Linked DNA regions of Homo sapiens: region 1 is linked to region 2. The links are contacts of gene promoters, found by promoter capture Hi-C in blood cells and fetal thymus (Javierre and others, 2016). All regions are on one chromosome and are shown on one strand. The core of a region is centred on a gene start or on the middle of the fragment in contact, and the rest is flanking DNA. Distances in the headings are between cores, read along the strand shown.

What was found. Contacts are between HindIII fragments. The CHiCAGO score rates a contact against its expected background, and 5 or more counts as called.
Region 1: a contact is called between a fragment that was not itself captured here and the fragment with the promoter of TMBIM4 in region 2, in 1 of 17 cell types (total B cells). The highest score is 5.6, in total B cells.

Annotation. Positions count from the first base shown.
Region 1 is chr12:42,466,930-42,473,718 of GRCh38, forward strand. PRICKLE1 (prickle planar cell polarity protein 1) reads right to left here. Exons shown (of 8, transcript NM_153026.3): 2 at 5,456-5,635; 3 at 3,317-3,430; 4 at 2,521-2,658; 5 at 1,697-1,900. The coding sequence starts at 5,587. Among named protein-coding and RNA genes, the nearest start is that of PRICKLE1, 120 kb to the right of the region's middle. RefSeq lists enhancers at 2,575-2,674, 2,685-2,734. The HindIII fragment of the contact is 902 bases long and covers 1,656-2,557 here.
Region 2 is chr12:66,166,658-66,173,672 of GRCh38, forward strand. TMBIM4 (transmembrane BAX inhibitor motif containing 4) reads right to left here and starts at 3,339. Exons shown (of 7, transcript NM_016056.4): 1 at 3,198-3,339. The coding sequence starts at 3,294. RefSeq lists enhancers at 2,491-2,590, 3,073-3,597, 3,241-3,320 and a silencer at 6,319-6,519. The HindIII fragment of the contact is 2,376 bases long and covers 2,639-5,014 here.

The DNA.
Region 1 (6,789 bases), core at 857-3,356, about 24 Mb before region 2:
ACAGTGGCACAATCATAGCTCACTGCAGCCTCAAACTCCTGGGCTTGAGCGATCCTCCCACCTCTGCCTTCTGAGTAGCTGGGACCACAAGGGCACAACCACCATGCCCAGCTAATTTGAAAAACATTTTGGGACAGAGACGGGGTCTCACCATGGGGTCTAGTCTGGTTCTTTTTTTATTTTTATTTTTATTTTTTATTTTTTTGAGACAGAGTCTCGCTCTGTCACCACGCTGGAGTGCAATGGCGTGACCTCGGCTCACTGCAACCTCCGCCTCCTGGGGTTCAAGCAATTCTCCTGCCTCAGCCTCCTGAGTAGCTGGGACTAAAGGTGCATGCCACCATGCCCAGCTAATTTTTGTATTTTCAGTAGAGACGGGGTTTCACCATGTTTGCCAGGATGGTCTCTGTCTCTTGACCTCGTGATCTGCCCATCTCGGCCTCCCAAAGTGCTGGGATTACAGGCGTGAGCCACCGAGCCCGGCAGGTTCTTTCATTTTTTTTATATTTTTGGTTTCCAAAATATGTTCAGCGGAGCATGGTGGCTCACCCTGGTATTCCCAGCATTTTGGGAGGCTGAGGGAGGTGAATCTCTTGGGGTCAGGAATTCGAGACCAGCCTGGCCAACATGGTGAAGCCCGCCTCTACTAAAAATACAAAAAAAAAAATTAGCTGGGCGTGGTGGTGGGCACCTGCAATCCCAGCTACTCGGGGGGCTGAGGTGCAAGAATCACTTGAACACGCGGGGCGGAGGTTGCAGTGAGCCAAGATTGCACCACGGCACTCCAGCCTGGGCAACAGAGAGCAACTCCATCCCAAAAAAATAAATCAAAACAAAACAAAAACAAAAATATGTTCAAATAGAACATTGTTGAAAAAAATGTATAAAGTAAATGAATGTATAAAAATAAAAACAAAGTTTATTGTCATAGATTGAAGGAGACTAAGAAGATACAACGAGTAAATGCAATGAAGCACCCTGGATTGATCTTGGATAAGAAAAGGAGCATCTGTTAAAACACTGGGAAAATCTAAACAAAGACTATGGTTTAGTTAATGGTATTACACTGCTGATAATTTCTTAGTTTTGATACATATATTATGGTTATGTAAGACGTTAGTGTCAGGGGAAGCTGGGAGAAGGGCATGCAGGATCTCTCTGTAATAGCTTTGCAACTCTTCTGTAAATCTAAAATTATTTTAAAATAAAAAGCTAAAGGGAAAAAATTTTTCCTTTCAAGCCATCATCCATTCCCACCTTCCCCGAGGGTAACTACTATTAATTTGGTATTTGTCTTTCCATACCTTTTCTGAGCATAAACAAATACATATATCATATTGTTTTTTAAATTCTTAACAAAAATGAGACCATCTACTACATGCTCTTCTGCAGCTTGTATTTTCTCACAACCCACTGAAGACATAATACTTATCAAAGTACAAAGACATCTGCTTCCCTTTCTATCAGGAAGGTGAAAAATTAATTGCGGTTTTGACCATTATGGCAAAAAACCGCAATTACTTTTGCAGCAACCAAATATAGATCATTTCATTGTATGAATGTACAGGATTATGTTTAAAACATGCACACAGAACAAAATCCAGGAAATTTTAGTATTTTGCTTGATGTAAACAGTGGAATATTGGCTTAATCTAAGCTTATTTTTCCCAGTGTGAAAGGATGAACTTTTTTTTACCTCGTCACATGCTGAGCACCGTGGTTTGAGCAGTTCTGCATGGTGCCTGCCACAGTGAATTTTTCCATCCTGATAAAAATAGATGAGGTCGACCAGCAGCTCATTACACGTGAAACAGACAAAACAGGATGGGTGCCAGCACACACCAGGGCCCGCACGGGAGGCGAACACTGCAACTTCACCTCCATTTATCTTCAAACCACACTACAAACAAATGGGTTTGAATGTAAAAGGATCATTTTTTAAAGACAGGATTCTCAGGCTTTCCTACTTTAGGATAAATCTCGAATTTGTCAGGAATGTATTTATTTTTGCTACCTCTTTTAGTGATTAAATAGCTCTTTAATGCTGGATTACTGGTGATTCTCCACTGTAAGGCACGTGTCTCAGACATACTACAACTATTTCTAAGGACGGTGTAATCTGATTCACACAAATAGTGGTTTTCCTGTGCCAGCCTCCTGCTGGATACATTTCCTACTCTGAGAACTGCCAGCAAAGATCTGAATGTCTTCATTATGTTTCTGCATCTTTTGAATACGAGATGTATCCTAGCACCTACCTCCATGCCAGGATCCTACCAAAGGCAGGATTTCACCCAATGTTTGCATAAGGGTGACTGACTCCTGCTGTCATACACAGCAGTGTAGCTAGTTACAAATATGAAACATGATTTGCTATTTAATAAAAAGCTAGGCTGTCTTTCTCTCATTTTCTGGAGGCTTTCAGGACCCACACCTCTGCTAGTCCAGTCACCTACCCCCGACTGTCCACCCCATCCACATCACTGCCACAAGCTACGCATCAGAGAAGGGGCTGCTCACCTGCTCACACACAGCATGCATGACTGCTCTGGACAGAAGCTTAATTGTTCCTCTTCCCAGTGCTTCTTTCTTCCGCTGAGCACTGAACACCTGCAACTCTTTTTTCTCCTCTTCACTCAAAGACTGGCAATACCGTACCTTCACAGAAAGCAAAACAGAAACACCACACTGAGTGCACAGTCTTTCTCACCAGTTCTCTACTTCCAGAGTTAGGGTTTCAGGAAGTGAAACAGTAAGTTTAGCTCGCCTGTGTCACACCCCCACGATTTTAAAATGACACCATATCTGAATTTTACAGCCTCTCTAGAAAAAGGGAAATGCAATGTGAAGGAATACTTTTTTTTTAAATAAGAAATGTTTAATTGAAAACCCTTATCAACACAGAATTAAAAAATATATATAGGACATTAACCTTTCCACAAAAGGTTTAAACTTGTTAATTGCCACTTTTACTCTCCATTCTACATGCACTCAACTCAACTGCAGGCCTGAATGACCATAAAGCATTCACTCTGGATGCAGGGGCTGGGAAATCTCAGGAATTTGTAGGTTCCTGATCATTGGTGGGTGGCTGCAAACACTATAAAAACCAACTTGTGTTAAGTTTATTACACTGATACTCTTTTCTCTCTTTCTCTCAAAGAATGGAAAGCTGTATTCTCTGGCCAAATTTTAACTAAAGAAAGGCAAAAGGGAGCCCTCGCCAGTGAGGAGTTGGGGTTTATGAGCAGCATCTCAATGCTTCTCATGCATTTTTTCTTCTTTTTTCTAATTAGCCTTCTTCCTGCTATTTTACCTCATTATCATGTGGTGGTAACTGGTACAAAAGCTGTTTAATCCGATGCTTCTCTCCGGGGCTGTTAACGTAAGGAACTTTTTCCTCTGGTAAGCAAGCAAAATAGAGCTGGATCTGCAAAAGAGACAGTGAGAATGGCATCAACATACAGAACTGAGCATCTCAGCTCACTTAATCTTTAAAAGTTACCTTTCCCTAGGTACAGGGTTTGGCCTCTTGTAGCTAATGAGAAGACCAGCTGAGCCAACTCAGCAGAACTGCAAACCTTCAGATAACTAGCACCCAGCTGCTAAATTGCTCTTCAGGAATGTAATTTGTAGTGACAATTAGGGACATCATAAATTATGCACCATAAAATATGCACATTTAAGACCACTCTTCCCGGTGGTGTGGCTCACGCCTGTAATCCCAGCACTCTGGGAGGCTGAGGCTGGTGGATCACCTGAGGTCAGGAGTTCGAGACCAGCCTGACCAACACGGTGAAACCCTGTCTCTACTAAAACTACAAAAATTAGCTGGGCGTGGTGATGCACGCCTGTAATCCTAGCTACTCGGGAGGCTGAGGCAGGAGAATCGCTTGAACCTGGGAGGCAGAGGTTGCAGTCACCCAAGATCGCGCCACTGCACTCCAGCCTGAGTGACAGAGCAAGAATCCGTCTCAAAAAAAAAAAAAAGACTACTCCTCCTCAGCCAGTCTTCCAAGGGGTCAGACAAGAGATCAGCAAGAGAGAGAGTCCTGGGTGAATCCTGCAAATTACTACACAGACTGTGTGAAATGGTCCAAAATCCAGCCACTACACGAACACATTTAATTTGCTCTCTGAATTTTACACAACACAAAGACAAAGGCTGTTTTGCTAAATGTTGTAAACTCTTCTTTATCAGGTTCTCTCAAACATCAGCTTTCTTTGCTTCCATGAGTGCTATTTTCTGAATACCTGAAGTCAGCCTCCCCAGGCAAACTGGAGAGAAGCCACATTGAGCTGTACTTTGCTCACTCTGAAAGGAAAACTTAATTTCTGCTTGTTTGTTTTTCTGATGTCTTTAAAGGAACATCCCTTAATGAGTACTGCAAAGGATACTGCAGAGCTGAGAAGGAATAAAAGAAAAAAAAGACAGGAGACAGGAATTTAGGGCCTGTCTACTTCAATACCTTAGTACCACACAAAACCTACCCACTCTAAGTTGTAAGAAGGGATTCTCTCTAAGTAGTTTGTCAAAATATTGCTTTTCTAACTGCTTCACCAGCACTCCACCCTCTCCCCATTCTATCAGCTCTAGAAGCTTTTTACAGTTATAAACACTTACTGAATATCAGCTACATGCGTGCCAGGTACTGTGCTATGCCATGGATAAATAAGGATACCCTATTCTCATAAAACGTCCCACCCTACAGGAAACAGAACCCTAACATCAGAAGCAAAGCAACCACATACCCCACTGTCAACTTTATTTTCAAATGATGCCTCTGCTCTTTTAATAATATCGCCAGTGATTTTCAACAAGTTAATCATTGTAAAGATATTGGGAAAATTAAATAGGCATATGGAATGTTCTCATCTTCCCTAAAATAACAATACAAACAAAGCATAAAATTAACTCTTTAATTTTTTTTCCAATCCCTGTGGTGTAAGTGACAGGCTCTTTTATATGCAAAGTTATCAAAGGTCAAACGTCTAAGCAGTAACACTTCAGAGGGTTTCTGATAGCTCACTATCTCGCTTCCAAAGCAAAAGCATTGCTGAGAACTGGCATGGAAACTTTTCTCTTTTCTTTTATTGCCTTTTTGTTGTCACAGAAGTTTTTTAAAAGGGAAATTCCTCTCACTCTCAAGAGGGATTCATCCGAAATACACATAACCAATGCATATGTAGTACTCTGGATTTCATTCATTAGAGCAAAAATGGGATCCTTATGAGGCTTCTGGAACCATGGGTACGACGAGATTGGAAACTTCCATTGAGAAACTAAATATGACCTTCAAAAGTAAAACTTCAAAGCCATACAAAGAAGAATAAGGACTGAGGAGGGTGGTATTCCAGCATCTCAGTGATGTTCTATCCATTTACAAAATAATGTTCTAAAGTCTGAACTCACACTGAAAAACAAAGAGTAAATATAGGATGATGAAGTTCCTACCTGCTCTGGTCTCAGGCCCGGGGGGACCCAGGCGTACTCCTCCAATGCACAGCCAGAGTCATCATCTGATGTGGAACTTCTCTGACAGCCAAAGGCCAGTTTGCTCATCTTGGGCTCCATCTCCAAAGGCATAAAGTTTAAAGCCTGGTTTCTCAGTCACAGGACATCAAACAATGGCTGCTGTGAACAATATAAGAAAAAACAAAGACATCTAAAACCTGAATGCATTTCTCTTACCCCCGACCCAGAGCTTTTATTGAATGCTGTTAACAGACAGCTGGGCCCAGAGAAAGTAACCAAATTACTACTGTCACCACCCCCAGGCCCCAGGCCCCCTGAAATTTAAAATTTAGAGCTATATAATTTGGTAGTAGTCTCTTTGCCAGCTCAGAATTTCAGAACATGCCACCAAAGCTAGTTTATTTCCAGGAGCCTTTAAAAGGTGCCTCTCTACAGTCGATTCCTTAGAAAAGTTCTCAAGAAAGTTGATGTGTTGACTTTCTAACTTGCCCACAAATCCTTGTGACATACTGTAAGTTGTAGAAAGAAGTGTCGGGGTCAGGCTACCTGCCTTGCCCACTACTATGCCCCAGGAAAAATGGCTCAAGACCCCACTCGGCACCCCTGTATTTCCTAAGCAATTTTTCCAACTGAGGCAGTGCTGCCTCCTGAGAGTGGGTCCACTCAGCCAAACTGCTTAGGTTTCAGATTTCTAATTATGTTTTGTAAGACACTAAACTGAGTTTACACACAAAATAGAAATAGCACAATTAAATCCTTATACTGCACATTAAATCCTCAAGCCTTTACTAAGGGCTAAAGTCAGTCAGACATTCATCAGTGAGTTCCTTCAACAAACAGTCACTGAATACAGTACTATGTGAAAATAAAATCCAGCTTGGTGACTGTTAATGTTTAATTGCATCATAAGCAGGCATTCGCTGAAAAGTTATGCAGTCAGTGCCTAGTATGTGTGAAATGTCATCAGCCTGCTATGGGCAGAGTAAGATGTAAATCCTCCTCTGAATAAAAAGCCTCCTTGGATGAAGGGCTATAAAAGTGTCAAGACAACATTCCCTGCCCTAGAACCCAGGAACTTTGCTATCACCATTTATGTTCTTTGTATCTTCTGATTATTAAAATCATCCCTCATCCCAGGGCACAAAGAAAAAAATAATAATAGCAGAACTTTCAGAACCAGATGGAGAGATGGAGCTTTTTTATACCTGGGCCTTTCACCCACAAAAAAATGATGTAAAGAAAGAAAATTATAGATAATTATCCCGACCCAATGATTTTAGAGAAAACAAGATTCAGGAAAGTCAAGAGACTTG
Region 2 (7,015 bases), core at 2,089-4,588:
ATGTGGAACCAACAAGAACTCTCATTCATTGCTGGTGGAAGTGCAAAATAGTACAGCCACTTTGTAAGACAGCTTGGTGATGTCTTATGAAACTAAACATTCTCTTACTATACAACACGGCAATTGTGCTGCTTGGTATTTACCCAAATGAGTTGAAAACTTATGTCCACACAAAAACCTGCACATGGATGTTTACAAAGCAGCTTTATTGACAAAACTTGGAAGCAGGCAAGATTTCCTTCAGTAGGTGAATGAATAAACTGTAATGCATCCAAACAATGGAATAGTATTCAGCACTAAAGAAAAATGAGCTATCAAGCCATGCAAAGACATGTAGAAAACCTTAAACGCATATTATAAGTGAAAAAGGCCAATTTGAAAGGTTACATGATAATTCCAACTATACAGCATTTGGGAAAAGACAAAACTATGGAGACAATAGAAGATCAGCAGGAAGGGAGGGATGAACAGGCAGAGCACAGAGGAAGGCAGTGAAACTATTCTGTATGATACTATCATGGTGGATACATGTCATTAAACATTTGTCAAACTCATAGAATATACAACACTAAGAGCGAACCTTAACGTAAACCTTGGTCTTGGGTGATAATGAGGTGTCCAGTCTAGGTTCACTGATTGTAACAAACATACCACTCTGGTACAGAACGTTATTAGTGCAAGAGGCTTGGGGAAAAGCAGAAAGGGTATATAAGAACTCTGTTCTTTCTGCTAAATTTTGCTATGAACCTAAAATTGCTTTTAAAAAATTAATTGGGCAAAGGACTTGAATAACATTTCTCCAAGGAAAATGTATAAATGCCCCACACGCATACTTTTAAAATGTGCAACATCATTAAATCATTAGAGAAATGCAAATCAAAACCAAAAGGACATACCACCTCACACTCATTTGATGGCTATTTTCATTTTAAAAAGAAAGAAAAGAACGGAATGTGTTGGCAAGGATGTAGAAAAAGGTGAACCCTTGTGCACTGTTGCTGAGAATGTAAAATGATGTAGCCCCTATCAAAAACAGTATGGCCGTTCCTTAAATAATTAAAAATAGAACTACCACACAATCCAGCAATTCCACTTCTGGGTATATATTCAAAAGAATTAAAGCACGGTCTTGAAGAGGTATGTGCACACCTATATTCATGACAGCACTATTCAAAGTAGTCAAGAGGTAGAAGCAACACAAATGTCCATCAATGGATGAATAAACAAAATTTGGTATATACATACAAAGTACTACTACTGTCTTAAAAAGGAAATTCTGCAGCCAGGTGCAGTGGCTCATGCCTGTAATCCCAGGACTTTGGGAGGCTGAGGTGGGAGGATCGCTTGAGTCCAGGAGTTCAAGATCGGATGGGGCAACATGGAGAAACCCGTCTCTACCAAAAGTACAAAAAAATTAGCCAGGCCTGGTGACCTGCATTTGTAATCCCAACTACTCGAGAGGCTGAGGCGGGAGGATCACCTGAGCCCAGAAGGTAGAGGCTGCAGTGAGCAGTGATCTCACCACTGCACTCCAGCCTCGGTGGCAAAGCGAGACCCTGTCTCAAAAAAAAAAAAAAAGGAAATTCTGACATATGCCACAACATGGATGTATTTGAAGACATTATGCTAATTGAAAAAAGCCAACCACAAAAAAACAAATACTGATTGTATCTAGAGTAGCCAAATTCACAGAGAGAGAAAGTGAAATGGTGGTTCCAGGGACTGGGGGAAGGAAGGAATGGGGAGTTAATAGGTATAGAGTTTCAGTTTTGCAAGATTAAAAAGTTCTGGATATTGGATGGTATATAAGTTTAGTCTAAAGCTATGCCTTTAGATATTTTAAGTTCAGCCTAGGGGTTCTCGGTATATAGTGAACTATAACCTAGTAAACAGGCTGTAACCTACGCTTGAACCAATCACTGAGTTTCAGCCAAAGATGGCCACGTGTTCAAACCATGTTCAAACGGGCAAAAACCAAGCTGTAACCAATCAACTCTTTCTGTACCTCACTTCTATTTTCTGTACCTCACTTTACTTTCTCTCTCCATAAATTTTCTCCCACCAAGCGGCAGGACTCATCACTCTGAACCTTATTCTGGTTCCGGGACCTGCCCAATTCGCAAATCATTCTGTGCTCAAACTCCGTTAGATTTAATGTGTCTAAAGTTTTTCTTTTAACAGTGCACAACCATGTGAATAACTTAACACTACTGAACTATACACTTAAAAATAGTTAAGACGGTAAATTTTATGTTACCTGTATTTTACCACAATTAATTTTTTTTAAAAAAAAGCTGAGTTCACTGGCCAAAATAATTTCAAAATTCAATTCCAAAAATATAAATGCTAGGCACCAAGATTCTTGGTGCATCAGAACTATCTTCATCTTTCCTTTTCCAGAACAAGTTCTAGGCACTAAGATTCTTAGCACATCAGAACTATCTTCATCTTTCCTTTTCCAGAACAAGTTCCAGCTGCCTAAACAGGCTGAAAGTCTGGGGCTGTTTCGGCGATCAAATGACCAAACTAGAGCAGGCAATGGCTTCCACGTAGATGAAGCTGAGCATTTTAAATTCAAAAATTTCTGCCCATTGGCTACTACGTAATAACTTAAAACACAATTTAGACTGACTTAGGAAGCTTCTGTGTTGAGCAACTTCCTCAATAATCCTCAAAGACCTGTTGCATTCTGGGCCCTGCGGAGAGGAAATAGTGCCGTCAGGGAGCTTCCAGCCTAGCACAGGACGGTAAATATAAGCCTGTAACGCGAAACCCCACAGAACAAAAACATCAGGCCGTGGATTCCACTCGTGTGTACGTCAGTCACAGTGATCAACCGACTCATTTCCACGACGTTTCTTTTCACTTCAAGATGCCAAATTCAGGCTGCGGCGGTTTCCATCTGTCCCTTCCTACACCGCGGCGCCCGCTGGGGAGCCGGGGCGCACACAGGACAGCCGCAAGCCTTCTGGGCCTGGCGCCCTCCCACACCCGCTAGGAGGGGAGGAAGCGCCTCCCCGACTCCCTGAGGAGGGCGCCAGTCCTCTGGTACCCGGAGAAGGAGGGCCGGGAGCTCAGTGAGCACTCCCTGTGAGTCCCAGGAGATGGCCGCTCTCCCTCGGAAGCCGGAAGTCGGCTTCTAGAGGCCGAGCAGTGCAGACAAGCGGCTGGGAGGCACTGGAGAGGGGACAACGTACCCATTCGGATGTGCACGGTGGCGGAGGCCACGCTGCTGCCATAGTTGAAGTCGTCCTCGATCGAGGAGCGAGGGTACCGGGGGTCGGGGTCAGCCATGATGGCAACAGCACCCCTACCGGTCCCGGTCCACTAACCGCAACCGCCTCCTCCCCACTTCCGCGAGGAAGAGCCCAGCCCCAGCAAGCCGTGCGGCGTCGGCGGGCGAACACCGAGCGAGTCGATTTTCTCGCTTCAAAAATTCCAGCTGGGCGGAGAAAGCGGGGATGGCTCCGAGTTAGAATGGAAGAGAAAACGGTTTACATTCCCGGCGTCATCTGAAGTGAAACTTTTCTCAACACACTTTTTTTTTTTTTTTTGAGATGGAGTTTCACTCTTGTTGCCCAGGCTGGAGTGCAATGGCACGATCTCGGCTCACCGCAACCTCCGCCTCCCGGGTTCAAGCGGTTCTCCTGCCTCAGCCTCCCGAATAGCTGAGATTACAGGCGCCTGCCACCACGCCAGGCTAATTTTTTTATATTTTTAGCAGAGACGAGGTTTCACCATGTTAGCCAGGATGGTCTCGATCTGCTGACCTCGTGATCCGCCCGCCTCGGCCTCCCAAAGTGCTGAGATTACAGGCGTGAGCCACCGCGCCCAGCCTGAACACACTTTAAGTCCTTTCACCTTGGAGAGTTGCTAAAGTGATAGAACCCATGTCCCAGTCACCCATCCACTCAACAAATACCCATCTCATTCATCCACTTTTTCAATAATCACACCGAGGATGCATTTTTACTTCTATTATTTTAAAATAATAATAATACCTACATTTATTGAGCACTTTCTATAAACCAGGCTTTCTGAATGAAGTAATATTTAATCCTGAAAGGCAAGTAGGAGCCAACCAGAGAAAGAGCAGTGATGTAGGCTGGGCCTCAAGGGACCAACGTCTGCAAAGAGGGAGACGGTGAAGCTCAGCTGGTGTAGGGGACAGGTGGCAAAGAATGAGGCTGGATAGATAAACAAAGGCCAGATCATCCTAGGCCAGAAGTAGAATACATTGAAGAGGGCCATTACCAAAGGCAGAGAAAAGGGGATAAAGTTGTATTACTGTAAGAGAGAGATGATGGTGGCAAATACAATGGATTAGAGTGAATATTCATGATATTGTTGTCATTCCAATATAAAGAGGTGTAGACATACCCAGAGTAGTGTCATCCTAGGGTCCCTTGGAATTGTTTTGATGAGTTTACTCTGATCTACCCACATTGCCCAGTCCTCACCTTAACCACAACACCCGAACACTTAGCAAGTGGAATTCAGAACAGTTGTGGAACAGTCTATTCTAAACTAAATCCTTAAACTTGATGTTCTCAGAAGCCTTTGCCAAAAGAACTAACGTCACTTCCACAATGACAAGAAAAACAAAACAAAACAAAAAAACACTTTATCTTTTATGATTTTACAAACATTTTACAAGCATATCATTTTAATTTGTTTTTGTTGGTTTGTTTTGAGATAGAGTCTCAGTCTGTCACCCAGGCTGGAGTGCGGTGGCTCTATCTCGGCTCACAGCAGCCTTGACCTCCTGAGGTCAGGTGACCACCCCCGGGTAATTTTTTGTATTTTTTGTAGTGACGGAATTTCGCCATGTTGCCCATGCTGGTCTCGAACTTGGGCTCAAGTGATCCCCCTACCTCGACCTCCCAAAGTGCTGAGATCACAGGCGTTAGCCACTGTGTCCGGCCCCTCGTTTTAGTTTAGTTTGTTGAATGGATAGGTGAATGGGATATGGCCTCTATCTCTTTAGTCACTCTCCAGGTGAGAGGACTTAAAAAGCTTGCTGAGAAAAATCTGAGAAAAGTTTTACTTCAGATGACACTGGGAATGTAATCCGTTTTCTCTCCCATCCTAACCCGAAGCCATCCCCTCTTTCTCTGCCCCGCCGTAATAATGGAATTTATTATAGAGGACAAACTGGAGCTAAATTGGGAACCCACCTTTGTATTGACTAAAAACAGCATCAGCAAAGTTTGATCCTTTACCTCTTACCAGTTACAAAAAAAAATAAATTCCAGATAGATTGTGGATATAAATGTGAAAGGCAAAAACAATAAAACTTAAAGAAAATGATACAGGAGAATATGATTTGGAGGAAGGCAAAGATTTCTGAAACCAGATACAAAATAGCACTTAACTTCAAATGAAAAGATTGCCAAATTAAATTATATTAAAATTAGGAATTTCTAGTAATCAAAATATACCATAAGAGAGTGAAAAGGAAGCCATAGAGTAGGGGAAGATATCTGCTATACATATAACCTACCTAAGGCTCCTTTTCAGAATATAAAAACAATTGTTACAAATCCAGACCAAAAAAAGACAGTCAATAGAAAAATAGACAAAAGACTGGAGGCGGGCGCAGTGGCTCATGCCTGTAATCCCAGCACTTTGGGAAGCTGAGGCGGGTGGATCACCTGAGGTCAGGAGTTCGAGACCAGCCTCAACGTGGAGAAATCCCGTCTCTACTAAAAATACAAAATTAGCCAGGCATGGTGGTACATGCCTGTAATCCCAGCTACTCGGGAGGCTGAGGCAGGAGAATTGCTTGAGCCTGGGAGGTGGAGGTTGTGGTGAACCAAGATCGCGCCATTGCACTCTGGCTTGGGCAACAAGAGCGAAACTCCACCTCAAAAACAAAAAAAAAGAAGGAAAAAAGACTGAAACAGGAACCTAACACACACACACACACACAGCCAAGTGGCTAATATATGAAAAGTTGATCAGAGAAATGTAAATAAATGCCAAAATTAGATATCTCTAAGCACCCACCAAATGATTAAAATTAAGAGATTGATAATATCAAGTGTTGGCAAAACTGGATTATCTAGAACTCAAATAAGAGCTGACTTAAAAGGTGTGCAACCTATGCTATTGCACAGAGCCCTGGACTCCGAAGGACTCTGCACTTGGTTTAATGCTCAGCTGTCACCATTTTGAAATACTTAGTAATTTTGCCTTTGAACATGTGTTTTGTAAGTGAAGTCTGAAAGTACAATGGAACATGAACATGAATAGAAGAGGTATGCACAATGTGGATGTCCACTGTTTCCTGCCAATCATTTGCATTTAAGCATTTAGCATGCCCCATGAGCTCAGAATTCTGTTAGACCTGCAATGTTTGGGAGTTAAGCTAGACTCAAAGCTAGTAAAAGATAAGCATGTCACACTTGTGACTTAGTAAAGGGAAGAGAAGAGAAGGCACAGACAGCCCCAAGAGGCCTAGCTTTCCTTACCGAGGAGAACTTACTTTGAATGCAGAAGGAAAGCAATGACGTTTTAAGAAACATGAATGACCAAGGAATCTTTTCACATCCTTTTTTTTTTCTTAATAGGGTCTTGTTCTGTTGCCCAGGTTGGAGGGCAGTGGTGCAATCATAGCTCTCTGCAAACTCCTGGGCTTAAGGGCTCACCCCATCTTAGCATCCTTAGTAGCTAAGACTACAAATGCATGCCACCATGCCCAACTAATTTTTTTTTTCCGAGATGGAGTTTCCCTCTTGTCCAAACTAGAGTGCAATGGCGCAGGTCTCAGCTCACTGCAACCTCCGCCTCCCGGGTTCAAGCAATTCTCCTGCCTCAGCCTCCCAAGTACCTGGGATTATAGGCATCCGCCACCACTCCCGGCTAACTTTTTTGTATTTTTTGTAGAGACTGGGTTTCACCATGTTGGCCAGGCTGGTCTCAAGCTCCTGGCCTCAGGTTATCCGTCCACCTCAGCCTCCCAAGTGCTGGGATTACAGACGTGAGTCACCGTGCCCGGACCTAATTTCTTAAA